Linked DNA regions of Homo sapiens: all the other regions are linked to region 1. The links are contacts of gene promoters, found by promoter capture Hi-C in blood cells and fetal thymus (Javierre and others, 2016). All regions are on one chromosome and are shown on one strand. Each heading gives the region's core, a stretch centred on a gene start or on the middle of the fragment in contact. The rest is flanking DNA. Distances are from core to core; before and after follow the strand shown. Region 1 holds the start of MAP2K6 (mitogen-activated protein kinase kinase 6). Region 2 overlaps PRKAR1A (protein kinase cAMP-dependent type I regulatory subunit alpha). Region 3 holds the start of PRKAR1A (protein kinase cAMP-dependent type I regulatory subunit alpha). Region 4 has its middle 140 kb from the start of LINC01482. Region 5 overlaps KCNJ2-AS1 (KCNJ2 antisense RNA 1).

Region 1 (2,700 bases), core at 136-2,635:
CTTCTCATATGGCATATGCTTTCTCTATGGTAAAGAAACAATTGTTCTGAAACAAGTGACTTGGGGTCCCAGGGGCACCTGACAGCACCTAGTCTGCTCTTTGATGTCATATCAGGAATTTTTTAAATCCCCTTCCCAGGGTGACATTAAGCCTGCAAAATACAACTGTGTTTAAAAACAAAAATTAAGAAAAGAAAATAAAAGAACATAAAGAAAACAACCATAACGTGAACTTCCAACCTATTACAGCTGACTAAATACACGCAGTTACACACTTAAAATATTTCATTATGCTTGTCAATGAAACAGTGCAGTCCCTTCACACTACTGTAATGCTTAAAAGTACAGTTTTACCCCCAATATTTTCCCCCAAGATGCAAAGCATCCCCCAAATGGGCAGACATAAAACATTAGGTCTTCACTGCTGCTTCTAAATTTTGCGAGCCAATAAGCAATTGGTGTAAAGTGCAAAATCTCAGAAGAGCAAGACTCGTCTGCTTTTTTGTGATATGCTGTTATTCACCCTTCACCTTTACTTCCTTTAAAAATCAAAAGTTACCTAATGTTCAAGGCGATATCAATGGAAATTTAGCTAAATACTGGCACCGCAACGGTCTATTTCCCCCAAAGAATATAAGATTACATTAATTTCCTAGTAGTTTAACTCAAGTTTTACCTTTCATCTTCACCTATAGAGTTTTTAAAAGTTTCTATTCCTGTTGCATACAAAATTACTTACAATATCTGTGCATAGTAAAGAATTTTACAATTATATAAAGCCTTGCACATTTAGACGCTACCAACCTGCTCTGTCTCTCCTGACTGTGCAAAAGGCAAAAAGAGCTCAGTAATCCTAGCAGAAGAATGCAAATAACGTCAATGCACAGCTGAACTGCAAGCCCTGCCTTACAGGAACTCTCTGTGTCTGCAAAAAAAGACACATACTAAACAGGAAATGCAACTGAGCTGTGGAAAACCTCAAACTTAAAAATGCACTCGCCAGGCGAAAATTGCATCCATGCATTCATAAATGCATGCACAACCCTTTGCATTTTTGCAACTAATGCAAACAGCCTCTTACCTTTCGACTGAGACATTTTCCCCTTTCCTTTGATGGGGGAGGGGAGCACAAAAGACTTTGCCTTGCTTCTCTTCTGTAGCTAGTTTTGCAACAAAGATGCAAGCTGCAGGCGTGCAATCTTCATGCAAGTGGAGTTTCTCTTGACCGATGCAGCAGATGGACTTTCAGGGAATCAAGATGGAAATGCACACCTTGCAAAACAGACTGGAAAGTGATTTTTCCCCCAGTTGCAACGTTAGGGAAGGCTGTGCTGCAGCTACATGATGGGCCAGGGCTGGCAGCTAAAAGCTCCAAACTTGGAACTGAGTATCTTAGTGCGCAGACGTCCTTCCTGCGAAGGGCGCGAAGGCCGCTGGGTAATGTAGTTCTCCGGCGGAGTCCACGGGGCTCTGATTTAAGGAAACGTGGTCGCCCCGGTCGCTGAGCGAGATAACTGGGTGCGACAAAGATTGCGTCCAGATAAACAAGTCAGACACACACTCAGTAGAGTGATGGGTGAAAAGCGGCAAGGCCAAGACGGGGCGGCAGTTTTGTTCTCGAAAAGCCTCTGAAACAACAGCTAAAGAATATTAGGTTAGCTAAAGAGCTTTTGGCTTGTCGAGAAGGTCTGTTTGGGAGTTTAGTGTGTTGATTTTGCAGCTCAGCACCTGTTGTGCTGTTCTTGCCTGTAGACGTTTTACCCTCACACCTCCGTTTTTTGTTTGTTTGGGGGTTTTTTTGTTGTTGTTGTTGTTGTTTTTTTCCCGAGAGGGAGTCTCGCTCTGTCGCCCAGGCTGGAGTGCAGTGGCGCGATCTCTGCTCACTGCAACCTCCGCCTCCCGGGTTCAAGCAATTCTCCTGCCTTAGCCTCCCAAGTAGCTGGGATTACAGGTATGCGCCACCACGCCCGGCTAATTTTTAGTAGAGACGGGGTGTCAACATTTAGCCAGGCTGGTCTCGAACTCCTGACCTTATGATCCGCCCACCTCGGCCTCCCAAAGTGCTGGGATTACAGGCGTGAGCCACCGCGCCCGGCCACACCTCCATTTTTAAAAACATTTTTTCTAGTAAGAAAAATGTATGGATGATTGGGTTGGCTGGAGGTAAGGTTACCTTTGCTCTGTGGAGAAGATGCAAAGTTTTATTTTGTCAGAAACAATCCAGGTCAGTTATTTCCAAGGAACCCGAAACTCAGTAGGGGGTAGGTGTGGGGAAGAAGATTGGAGGCTTCTCATTTCTCACAGGGTTACAGAGGAAGTTCTGCTTTTTATACATCAACGCTAACTTTATCAAAATTAAGGTATCTAGATGATTTTTTCTCACCTGGGAGGAGAGTCCCTGGCCTAGGGGGAAAGTGGGTGGAAAATGAATACAGTCGAATATCTTGAATTTATTCATTAAAATTAAAAGATACTTGTTGAGTGTCCAGGATGTGCCAGGCGCCTTTCTAGGGCCCTGGGATGTTCATTCATTCTGTACCGCTCACACATAGTGGGTACACAGCACCCTGATGGAGAACGGCATCACCTTTTTCACAAGGAAGCCAGAGATGCTTAGCACAATTCACTGCAAGGAATGGAGAGGAGTGAGCAGGGCATGGGCAAAAATGAGCTCGGACTTATACTTCATGGAGCAGACAG
Region 2 (2,700 bases), core at 105-2,604, 880 kb after region 1:
GATAAAAACGTACCTTTGGGGACAAATTAAATGGTTATCTAGCCATTGCTTCTTGATGTTGTCTTAGCCCATCTAAACATACACTGCCAGGGCCTAACATAAGTACAAAAGGTTCAGCTATTATTTGTGGTTAGAGATAAAGTAGTATGAAGAAAACTGACATGCTACTTCAATTTTTAAATGTCAATATTTAAATCATTAAAAAATAAAAGAAACAAAAAAAAGAGTCTACTTGGGCCACTGTTTAGAGAGAATTCAACTATAACCAGGACTGTCAACCCAGAGAAATTTTCTTTAGTTACATTTTATTGTGACTCTAAAGGTTTCATACTCCAGAGGACGGGGGGAAGGGATTACTGAATCTAGAAAAGGTACACATGTTCAAAGCAACACAATTTAAAGAATGCTCTTCTAACATACAACATATCTCCAATTTCACTGGATGTGAAGAAATACCAATACACTAATGAATACAACTTAATCATCTCACTCCTCAGAAATCTAAGAGCATCAGAAATAAGGCTTTATATATGAGGCTTTATATATGCAAAATATAAAAGTATCCCTAAGTAACATTAAATGTATATATTAAATTTAAACCAAAGAGTATGCTAATCTAGAAATGATGTTTCCCCATTAAGTCTGGGAAAGTTCCAAGGCCACAGAACCAATCTGTCTTCAATCAAAAGGAAATCTTTAGCTTTTGACTGAATTTTTTTCTTTCCATGACTAAGTAAATAAATCTGCTACATCTCAATTACCCTTTAAGCAAGATTTTGAGATCCACTCTTTGACAAACTGAAAAGCACTGAAAATAAACATTGCTCTTTCAAAACACCGATCCCATAATTCACTTTCCCCCTTTTCATTTTTGCCCACCCGAGTAGACTTTCGGGGAAGGACAGAGAGAGGAAAGACGGAAAGGAGAAAGGGAAGAAAAACTGATTCATTTAAGAATTTAAATTATTTCATCTCTTTTTATTACTTGACCTACCATTAAGACAATCTATAACAAAAAAAGTATATTAGCACACATGGTATAATCAGACTGGTAATCAGGAAGCAATACAAAACGGTCCTTTGGCCATCTATACTTTCTAGAGCAGTAAATCTCATAAATTCACTTACCAAGCCCAGGAATAATGACTTTTAAAGCCTTGAATATCAACTAAGACAAATTATGCCAATTCTGATTTCTCACATATACTTAGATTACACAAAGATAAAGCTTTAGATGTGATCATTGTTTAATGTAGACTTATCTTTAAAGTTTTTAATTAAAAACTACAGAAGGGAGTAAACAGCAAGCCAAATGATTTAACCAAATGATTTAAGAGTAAAACTCACTCAGAAAGCATTATACGTAACTAAATATACATGAGCATGATTATATACATACATGAAACTGCAATTTTATGGCATTCTAAGTAACTCATTTAAGTACATTTTGGCATTTAAACAAAGATCAAATCAAGCTTTAAGCTTGTAAGAACGTAATTTTCATTTTTAATTTTTTAAATATAAAAAGGTAGCTAAACACAAAGTACAGATCAGAAACCCTCATTTAATATAGATTATTTTGGAAATTAAAAAATTTGTAACAAGGTGGCTTTCTTACCCACCCTAAAATGTAAATAAAACCTCTTCCCCAGATTTATACTTCATACTTGGTAACAACCTAAAAGTTTTTCAAATCTATGAAAAAAATCTACCATGACCAATTTAAATTACCTGGGAAAGGGCAGGAGAAGGGATCAATAACAGAGTCAGTTAGTTGCACACAGATGGAAAAATGCTTGCAGTCACTCCCAAATATAACCCTACATTACCTTATATATAAATCACAATGAAAATAAAAGTGCCTACATTACAGAACTGTGAAATTTTGTTTAAAAAAATAATAAAAATAAACTGTTGGGTATCATTGGAATAATGTAACACATAAGGCTGGAAAATACTGAAATACAGTTAAGACTCAATACACAAGTTTACTTTAAAAAAGAAAAGAAAGAAAAGTTTGCCAGAGAAATAAATGCTAGATAGGAAAGCAGGACTTTCAGCAGGATAGCCTTTCAGACCAATTTGAAGCAACACAGACACATTATACCCTACCATCAACCCACCAGAAATTCTAGCTGAATAAAAAGGAAGGAAAAAAAGACTAAACCAAAGTAAAAAACTTCTTCCAAAATCTCATGCCCCAGTGAATGTCACGGGGAAAATTCCCGACACTGAACTTTGTCCGCCTGGCATTTCTCCCTTTAGCAGCATCACCTCTATTTCTCTGTTAGGACATTTGCTCCATCTGTATCTAGTCACAGCAAATCCAATCTCCTGGAATCAGTTTAATGAGCAGAGGAGATTATACTGGAGTCAGCTGAAGGACATACTTTAACCAAACGCTCTAAATTAACAACCAAGAATGTAGACCTCAAATTCTTATTCTCAATTCAGCATCTGATCAATTATTTGGCACTAGCTGGATAAAGGTCTAATCGGAATTTGTGAGCCGAGGCAGATGTAGTTAAATACTAACCAATATTTGCAATCTATGAGTTAGTTTCAAACTTAAAAGGCAGGTATAGATAGCCATACTCAAAAGTATTTCAGAATTGGAGAAGAAACATTAATAACAAGATATAAATAAAACCAGGCAGATTAGCTTGGCAAACAACAACTCTGGAAAAAAAAAAACTGAAC
Region 3 (2,700 bases), core at 177-2,676, 900 kb after region 1:
TTTGGCTGGTAGAGATGAGAGAACTGGGCCTAAGGAGTGAAACTGTGTTTTTGTTTGAAACAACTAATGTATTACGAAAACCAAAAAGATAGCCACCGGTAATAGGACAGTATACGAACAGAAATGTACCAAAATTAATGCAGTCACCATGTAAATCCCTGAATAACCAGACTTCACAGTCTTAATATTTTTAATCGAGTTACCCGGATTCTCTATGTGTACTTATTTGTAAAGCCCAACAACCTAGCCTTCCCTCCCCACACACAATTATTTAACTGCTTTAAAACTTTCGCTGCATTGTCTCTATGTAAAACAAAACACTCAGATTCATTCTTTTGAAAATTCAGTTGTGACAAAATTGTTTCGAAAGGATTACATTCTGGGAAATAAATAAAAACACTTTGAGAAACTGTTCCTGATTCAGACCGCACCCCCTTAGACCAGCCAAGTTACGGCTCCCCTAGGGTCATCTTGAGTAAGTGTTTGCTTTCCTCGCTCTGCTAAAAAGACGGATCTCTTGGGAATCTCTCAAGGAGTAGGACGGTCGTCACCACAGGCTCTGAGCTGAAGAGGTTAATAGGTACCGTGTATTTTCTAGAAGAAGGGCAGGAAAATGCCCTTCACTTCACGTAGGCCACGGTCATGACCACAAAATGAAGGGAAGCCGAGACTTCAAGCTACGCCAGTCGGAAGGCCACAGTGGTGGCGAGGAGGCCTCAGGGGGGCAAAATTGGGAAAGGGAGAGAGGTGAAAGGGGACAAGAGGAAATTCAGGAGCCCGACTAAGACCGTCGTGTTGGGGGAAAGATCACTCCGCTATGAAGAGGAAAGGCTACTGCTAGCAATGACGAGTCGTCAAAAGTGGAGAGGAAAACTACCGGCTTACAAGAAGAGCCAGGACCGGCGGACGAGACGATGGCGGACCCCAGTAAAATAGAGCCGTTGTCCTTCAGGAAATGGGGGAGGGTGAGCGAAGAGGCCGCGGCGCGCGGGGGCGAAGGCGGCCGGGGAGGGCCGCGGAGGGCCCAGGGCCCCAGGAGCCGTGGGGTGGGGGCAGCGAGCGCGAGCGGGGCGGCTGGGGAGCCCCGCACCAAAGCCAACGCCCAGACGGCCTTGAGGATGCAGACTCGGAGCCGGGGGCGTGAGGCCTGCGGGGAGGCGCCCGCCGGGCCGGGGAGGGGCAGGGGGTGCGGCCGTCCCCCTGCAGGTCGCTCCCCGTGACGCCATCTTGGATCGGTCCAGCTCCCGCAAACCGGCTGCGAAGCGACGAAGCTCACCTCGCCTGAGCCCCCGGCCGACCCCACTCACCTGGGGACGGGCGGCGGCGGGCGCGAGGCTGCGGGTGCGAGGCGGCGGCGTACCGAGCTCCCTCAGCGCTTTGCTCCCAGCCCCGCTCCACTCTGCGATAGCGGCTAGGCGACAGCTCCACCGGAAACGGCCTGGCCGCAGCCAATCAGCGTTCGGCTACTGACGTCAATGCGCCTCGCTCTGGCCAGAACCGTCGCCTTAGCAACCTTAAGGGCGCAACAGCCCCAGTTCCTCCCCCCTGGTCGCTCTTGGAAGGACCCTCACTCTGCGGTCGTTCGTCTTCCGCCATTCTTTCCATCTTACTCGTCCCTTATCCACAGCAGTTTCCTCACGCCCGCCACTTCTCCTTTCCGCAGTCTCCCTAGCCCGGTTCTCTCCTCCTTCCTGCTCACCTGCCCCTCCTTACCTGTCCCTCTCTGGGTGTCTTGGGTCGCCTTTGTTCCTCCGCCTGCTCTTCGCTCTCTCTCCGCGCAGCTATCGTGCGCTTCCCTCTCGTCCCTCCGCTCCTCTGTCCACCCCACTCTCCCTCCGGCCTCCCTTGACGCCTCTGCCTTTTCTCCCTCCTTTCCACCCCCTCCCTGGCCGACCCACGTGGGGCGTCTCAGATGACAGGTGGGCGACTCCTCCCCGCAGCCCCTGCAAGGGAGGGCCCCGGGCCGGGGCGGGGAGAGTCCTGTCGCTGCCAGCCCCCGGAGGAGGTGGCGGCCCCCGCGGATCTGCAGCAGCTGCGCTGCGGGGCCGAGCGCGGGCGGATGGCCGGGATGCGCTCTCCGGGCCGCGCATCCTGTGCCCGGCCAGCGCCGCCCGGGCCCCGGGCTCAGGTCAGTCATCCGGTCCAGGAAACCTGAGCCCTGCCGAGTCTCCGCTGGGGCCGCTCTCCCCCGCCGGGGGTGCTGTCGTCTGTGCAGGCAACACCGTCCCTGTGGAAACCAGGCACGGGAAAGGACTTTGTCAGGGTCCAAGAGGAGGCCTGAGTCCTTCTAGAACCTGAAGTGCCCCCCCATCACTCCTGACCTCACAGAGGGAGAAGTGCAGAGCGTGCAGATTGTCAAAAATGCCCTGTGACCCAACAAGAAATCGCAGCTGTCCAGACAAGCTGCACTAATGGGGAAAATTCGGAGGAAAAGCGACTTTACTCTTTCAGCCATTTTTTTTTTCCATCAGAGTATCTGTCTAAGGAGGAAGAAAAGGGAGACGGTACAATTTTAGACACATCAAGTCTGTAACTCAATAAAGAAGGCCCATCAAGGAAACATGTCCAAGTGTCTGGCTAGGGGCTGCTTTAGTAGCATTGTATATATTTCTAGGGCCGTGTGCTTAAAATTCATAATGGATTCAACACAATACAAAAAAGCAAAATACACACATATGCAAGTGTCCAGGAGCTGTTGTA
Region 4 (2,700 bases), core at 89-2,588, 640 kb after region 1:
GACATGCAGTATTTGGTTTTCTGTTTCTGTGTTAGTTTGCTGAGGATGATGGCTTCCAGCTTCAACCATGTCCCTGTAAAGGACATGAACTCATTCTTTTTTATGGCTGCATAATATTCTATGGTGTACATGTGCCACATTCTCTTTATCCAGTCTATCATTGATGGGCATTTCGGTTGGTTCCAAGTCTTTGCTATTGTAAATAGTGCTGCAATCAACATACTGTGCATGTGTTTTTCTAGTAGAATAATTGTCAAATGCTGTTGGAAGCAGAGATCCCATATCCTTTCTACCATTTTTGGCCCAACCTAAAGTGCCATCTATGGGGGGATAGTTCTGACTAAGAAGTGTTTATTTCAAGAGATGTCAGAGAGAAACTATACTTTTGGTTTCATGGGAAGTCTTTACTTCCATGCAAGGATGCTGGAACAAATTTTTCCAATCTTTTTTCACTCTGCTATGGAAAAATCTACATGCAACCAAGGAGGTGCTCATTGTCCCTTCTGCCCATGCTGAGCAAAGGATGAGATGCTTTCTGTTCACAAATTGCTACAACCACAAAGTGTGACAAAATAAGAAATTTGAAAAGTAAAAGGGCCAGACGAAAAATTCAAAGAACTTTTCTTGGGCTCCCTTTGAAAATAAGAGCCATTGCTTTCTGTACCTCAGTAAGTCTTGTACTTTTGCACATTTCTAAGACACCTTTGGACTTTTACAAAGAAGTCTTTGCCCCCACCTGCCTCTAGGGACTTGTGTAATCACAAATATTCTAAAGGTATACACATTCATTGAATTTGTGGTGGCCACATCCTTCTGTTCATCTAGCTATGATTATGGAGAAGAGAAAAGTCTCAGAGGAGTTCAATCTGAAGCTTGGACACACCATTTGTGCCTCTCTTTGGGATCCTGGAAAAAAAAAAACCAAGGATCAGAAAGCTGAGGTGATGCCCTGGGCAGGATTCCCCCAAGTAAACTTCCCACCTCATCCCCCTAGAAGTTTGCTCTCCAAAAGTTGAAGAAGGCTCTCCTTTCTATGTCACTGGGCTCTAAGCACTGGGATTACCAAAGTTTATTTTCAACAAGCCTTAAAATCTAACCCCTTATTGGCCTTGTGAACAGGGCAGGCCTCTTACAGAGGGTAGAAGCGGAATGGAACGACACACATTCAGCCTGTACTGGAGATTGTGGTAGCCACTCGGCCTCATGAGCAAATTCCCAGCTCTCACTGTTAACATCCTCCCACTTCTTCTTACAAGCTTCTCTCTTGCTTTCACTCTGTCTCAATCTTTCTTAAAGTGAAATCCTCAACTCTAGCCCCAGGAATCTAAAGGAAGAGATTCTAGCAATAGTCAAGGCTATCATCGATGATTTCTCCTCTCCAGTGGGCATTTACAGTCAATACTGAACCCAGAAAGCTTTCTTAATTTCTGCCCTCTTGGGATGTCGCTCCTTGGACTTACTGATGCTTTTCGAATAGTGAAAACATTTTAGGCAAGGGGAAACATTGCCCTCTACAGGGCGTATGAATCTCAACGTTTTAAAGGCCATCACTCAGCAGCACAGCACATGTGATTTTCAGGGATTCTTCATTCTTCCTCTACTTTTAGGTTAATACAGCTGGTGACAATCTTTTTTTTTTTATTTTTTATTTTATTTTATTTATTTATTTTTTTTTTGAGACGGAGTTTCGCTCTGTCGCCCAGGCTGGAGTGCGGTGGCGCGATCTCGACTCACTGCAAGCTCCGCCTCCCGGGTTCACGCCATTCTCCTGCCTCAGCCTCCCGTGTAGCTGGGACTACAGGCGCGCGCCACCATGCCCGGCTAATTTTTGTATTTTTAGTAGAGACGGGGTTTCACCGTGTTAGCCAGGATGGTCTCGATCTCCTGACCTCGTGATCTGCCCGTCTCGGCCTGACAATCTTGTTGGCTAGAATGACTTCTGCACACATTTATTGCTCATGTATAAAGAGAAAGAGAACGCCAAGAAAAAATTTTAAAGTTCCATTCTTTTTGCAAAAACGTGTTGATGCAATACTTCCCAAAATCAGGCGAAGGTGAGGACATTTTGAACTTGAAGTTGCTGAGGGTCCTTCAGTGGTGCTGGGAAAGCTAAATCCTGTCAGTCCATTTCATAACACCACACAGCTAACAGGAAAGGGAGTGTCATGGGTTTTTCAGGTTTTCCTTCCAGGTCCTGTATAGAAAATAAGAAGCTATGTCTCTGCATAGCAAAAGAAACTACCATCAGAGTGAACAGGCAACCTACAGAATGGGAGAAAATTTTTACAATCTACCCAACTGACAAAGGGCTAATATCCAGAATCTACAAAGAACTTATACAAATTTACAAGAAAAAATCAAACAACCCCATCAAAAAGTGGGCAAAGGATATGAACAGACACTTCTCAAAAGAAGACATTTATGCGGCCAACAGACACATGAAAAAATGCTCACCATCACTGGCCGTCAGAGAAATGCAAATCAAAACCACAATGAGATACCACCTCACACCAGTTAGTATGGCGATCATTAAAAAGTCAGGAAACAACAGGTGCTGGAGAGGATGTGGAGAAACAGGAACACTTTTACACTGTTGGTGGGACTGTAAACTAGTTCAACCATTGTAGAAGACAGTGTGGCGATTCCTTAAGGATCTAGAACTAGAAATGCCATTTGACCCAGCCATCCCATTACTGGGTA
Region 5 (2,700 bases), core at 20-2,519, 750 kb before region 1:
CCAAAAGTTTAATTATCCCTTAAAACATGTTAAGCCTAAATAGAAAAAGGAAATTAATCATTTATAGATTTTCTCTTCTTTATTATGATTCAGTTGGTGCATCTGTAGATGGCTAAGAATTTTCCAAACCACGTGAATTCAGAGAGGCAACACTTTTGTTGTTGTTGTTTTTCCAGGTAATGAGCTCGCTTTGAAAACCAGTCACTCGGAAAGGGATGGCATTTTTATGCAACTTGGATTGAAATGGTTTTGCTTTAGTATTCTACTCTAATTAGAAAGAATACACCACAGGCCGAAATAGTTTCATATGATAGGAAAATCTTTAAAGAAAGGAACACAGAGTTATTAGATTATGGTTGGCTGTATAAATTTAGCTGGGCAGCGGGAGGAAGGTCATAATAAATGTATCCTGCTCTCTCTCATCAATTATCAGCAGCACATCCCCCAACATTCTCTCCTCCCAAAGACTGAAGGATGTGCAGCAAAGCTTAGATCTTGAAGGAGAAGGTTCGGGAAAAATTAATGATTTTAATTAGAACTTTCCAATCTAAGTAGAATCATTACCTTAATTAGCTAAATAAGGAAGTATGAAGGATGAAATTTTGCAAATGAAATTTTGTAAATGTATGGTAGCGTAGAATACCCCCATTGCTTCATTTTAAAAAAAGAAAATATAAATGCATTTTAATTAATAAATGACTTTTCATCATGTCCCTATTAGGAAAATTCTGTGTGCCAATGCTTTCAGTGTTTGATTTAATACATCTTTTGAAGTGATGCGTGATGCAGATTTCTGTATTCAGAGTCTATCTTTTTTGGCTGAATCAGGCCTTATTTAGCAAAAATCCCCATTAGTCTTGGACACGAATGCAATTGGGTGTTGGGATCCATCTGTGGATTAAATTTTTCCAAGGAAATGACAATTATGCTCTTACTGATTCTCTCCACGGTAACCACCTATAATATTAGAGCCAAATATTAGTCACAATCTGGATCTGCAGTCAGATTGTGAATAGCTGTGTGACGCAGAAGGTGATTGTTTCACTAGAAGCACAGATCTTTCCTTTGCATTTATATAAAGATCCCCAACAATTAGACATACTTTCAGACTTACATTAACCATGTATATGCAGTTCAAATTCACAATGGTAAAACATCAAACGCTCCTGGCATTTGTATCCACTGGATATTAAAAACCACTTTCTAATCTTCAAAGTAATCATCATTAGCAATAAATAGTAAATAAATCATTGTCAGATTGCCCGGAAATGTAGACAGGCTGAGTTTGCAATCTGCTGCTATGAGAACAAGCCACTTACTGTGGTATTTTAAGGCACTGTATGTAATCTTATTTATTGGAAAACAGTTTTGGCCTTTAGTTTCACTTACTGCATTGATAATATTTAATCTTCATATTTTTAAATTCAGTGAACGTATTTGTTGAAATAACTACGTTGTACTTTGGCTATATGCTAGGTGAGATGAAAGACAGAAGTGTCCTAGCGGGAGTAATTCCTCTTCTTAAGAGTTCAAAATGTCTAACTGAGAAGATGAACAAGGCAGAAGTGAAACATTTAAATGATTAAACAACAATATAAGGCAGCTTATGATTATGCACTAAAATGGATCAAGCAACAAATAAAACGATAATCTTAGATTTTGAAGAATGGAATGAAGCAGGGTAAGACTTTGTAATGGAAGATTTAATACATATGACATATTACTATGTGTAGTGGTATTAAGGATGCTGAGAACACGTCAGAAGATAGGAGTGGCTCCTCATTCAGTTAATTTCTTAAATGCCTGCTATGCCCCAGACCTTTCTATATACAGGTAATCAAGCATATGAATTATAAGTTGTTTCTAAGAATAAATGTCAGTTACATGGAAATGAATGAAAGGAACAGTATGTTTTAGTATAACTTTTGATGATTACTCAATATGATTATAATAAACATAAGCTATTTCATTTTTTACCTGCAATACAGTAGGCCTATCAGGTTACAGTAGAGCCTTTTCTCCTGCATTAAATGACCCTAGACTAAGCTTATTTAAGCCCTTCTGCTTGTTTTCCCTTCTCCATCAATGTGAGCCTTCCGTTCTCATTTTTGCTTCTGATAATGTGCCTTGAATCTGTCAGACTGTCACCATGCTCTGCCTAATTTGTTGATTCTAATCTGTGCTGGGCTGATAAATTATGTAACCAAGGTTGCTAAAGTAATGTACAAGCAAATATGATTTAACATATCTAAAGATGCATTTTTGAAATAGTATGAGCAGATGCTGAATTTGGAGTTACCTTCGCTTGGTCAACCTCCTTTTTGGGTAAAAAAGCTTCAGGATTTGGATTTATGGCATCTATTTTGCTTCTCAGAGCATTTAAATGGCTTAGTCTTTGTATTTGCTGTTATAAATAGCTGAGGAAAACTTCTGAGTAAGTGAGATACCCGCGTGTTTGCAACTATCCATATGTTTATATGTACACATAAAATCATGTACTGATGTATTGAGAAAATATTTCAGTGCTTACTTTATCCGTTTATTATTATGACCTTTATTTTCCATCAAATATGTTAAAACCAAAATCAATAAGTGGGGCTGTTCTTTAAGAAGCTCACACTTCCAGAGCCTCCATGTTATTATTTAGTAAATTACCTATTCTGTCATGCTCTGGAAGACTTCATTTATCTCACATGAGTG

Evidence for each region. Contacts are between HindIII fragments. The CHiCAGO score rates a contact against its expected background, and 5 or more counts as called.
Region 2: a contact is called between a fragment that was not itself captured here and the fragment with the promoter of MAP2K6 in region 1, in 1 of 17 cell types (activated CD4 T cells). The highest score is 5.7, in activated CD4 T cells.
Region 3: a contact is called between the fragment with the promoter of PRKAR1A here and the fragment with the promoter of MAP2K6 in region 1, in 4 of 17 cell types (activated CD4 T cells, total B cells, erythroblasts and 1 more). The highest score is 7.8, in activated CD4 T cells.
Region 4: a contact is called between a fragment that was not itself captured here and the fragment with the promoter of MAP2K6 in region 1, in 3 of 17 cell types (M1 macrophages, total CD8 T cells and naive CD8 T cells). The highest score is 6.1, in M1 macrophages.
Region 5: a contact is called between a fragment that was not itself captured here and the fragment with the promoter of MAP2K6 in region 1, in 1 of 17 cell types (naive B cells). The highest score is 7.2, in naive B cells.

What each region holds. Positions count from the first base shown.
Region 1 is chr17:69,413,382-69,416,081 of GRCh38, reverse strand. It overlaps MAP2K6 (mitogen-activated protein kinase kinase 6), which reads right to left and starts at 1,385. Exons shown (of 12, transcript NM_002758.4): 1 at 1,082-1,385. The coding sequence starts at 1,097. The HindIII fragment of the contact is 8,167 bases long and covers 1-2,700 here.
Region 2 is chr17:68,531,020-68,533,719 of GRCh38, reverse strand. It overlaps PRKAR1A (protein kinase cAMP-dependent type I regulatory subunit alpha), which reads right to left. Exons shown (of 11, transcript NM_002734.5): 11 at 289-2,700. Among named protein-coding and RNA genes, the nearest start is that of PRKAR1A, 20 kb to the right of the region's middle. The HindIII fragment of the contact is 247 bases long and covers 1,231-1,477 here.
Region 3 is chr17:68,511,156-68,513,855 of GRCh38, reverse strand. It overlaps PRKAR1A (protein kinase cAMP-dependent type I regulatory subunit alpha), which reads right to left and starts at 1,426. Exons shown (of 11, transcript NM_002734.5): 1 at 1,308-1,426. RefSeq lists silencers at 956-1,465, 1,886-2,245 and enhancers at 1,536-1,625, 1,379-1,952. The HindIII fragment of the contact is 13,629 bases long and covers 1-2,700 here.
Region 4 is chr17:68,770,837-68,773,536 of GRCh38, reverse strand. No RefSeq gene overlaps it. Among named protein-coding and RNA genes, the nearest start is that of LINC01482, 140 kb to the right of the region's middle. The HindIII fragment of the contact is 159 bases long and covers 1,259-1,417 here.
Region 5 is chr17:70,165,037-70,167,736 of GRCh38, reverse strand. KCNJ2-AS1 (KCNJ2 antisense RNA 1) reads left to right here. Exons shown (of 1, transcript NR_036534.1): 1 at 1-776. Among named protein-coding and RNA genes, the nearest start is that of KCNJ2-AS1, 3.0 kb to the left of the region's middle. The HindIII fragment of the contact is 1,559 bases long and covers 490-2,048 here.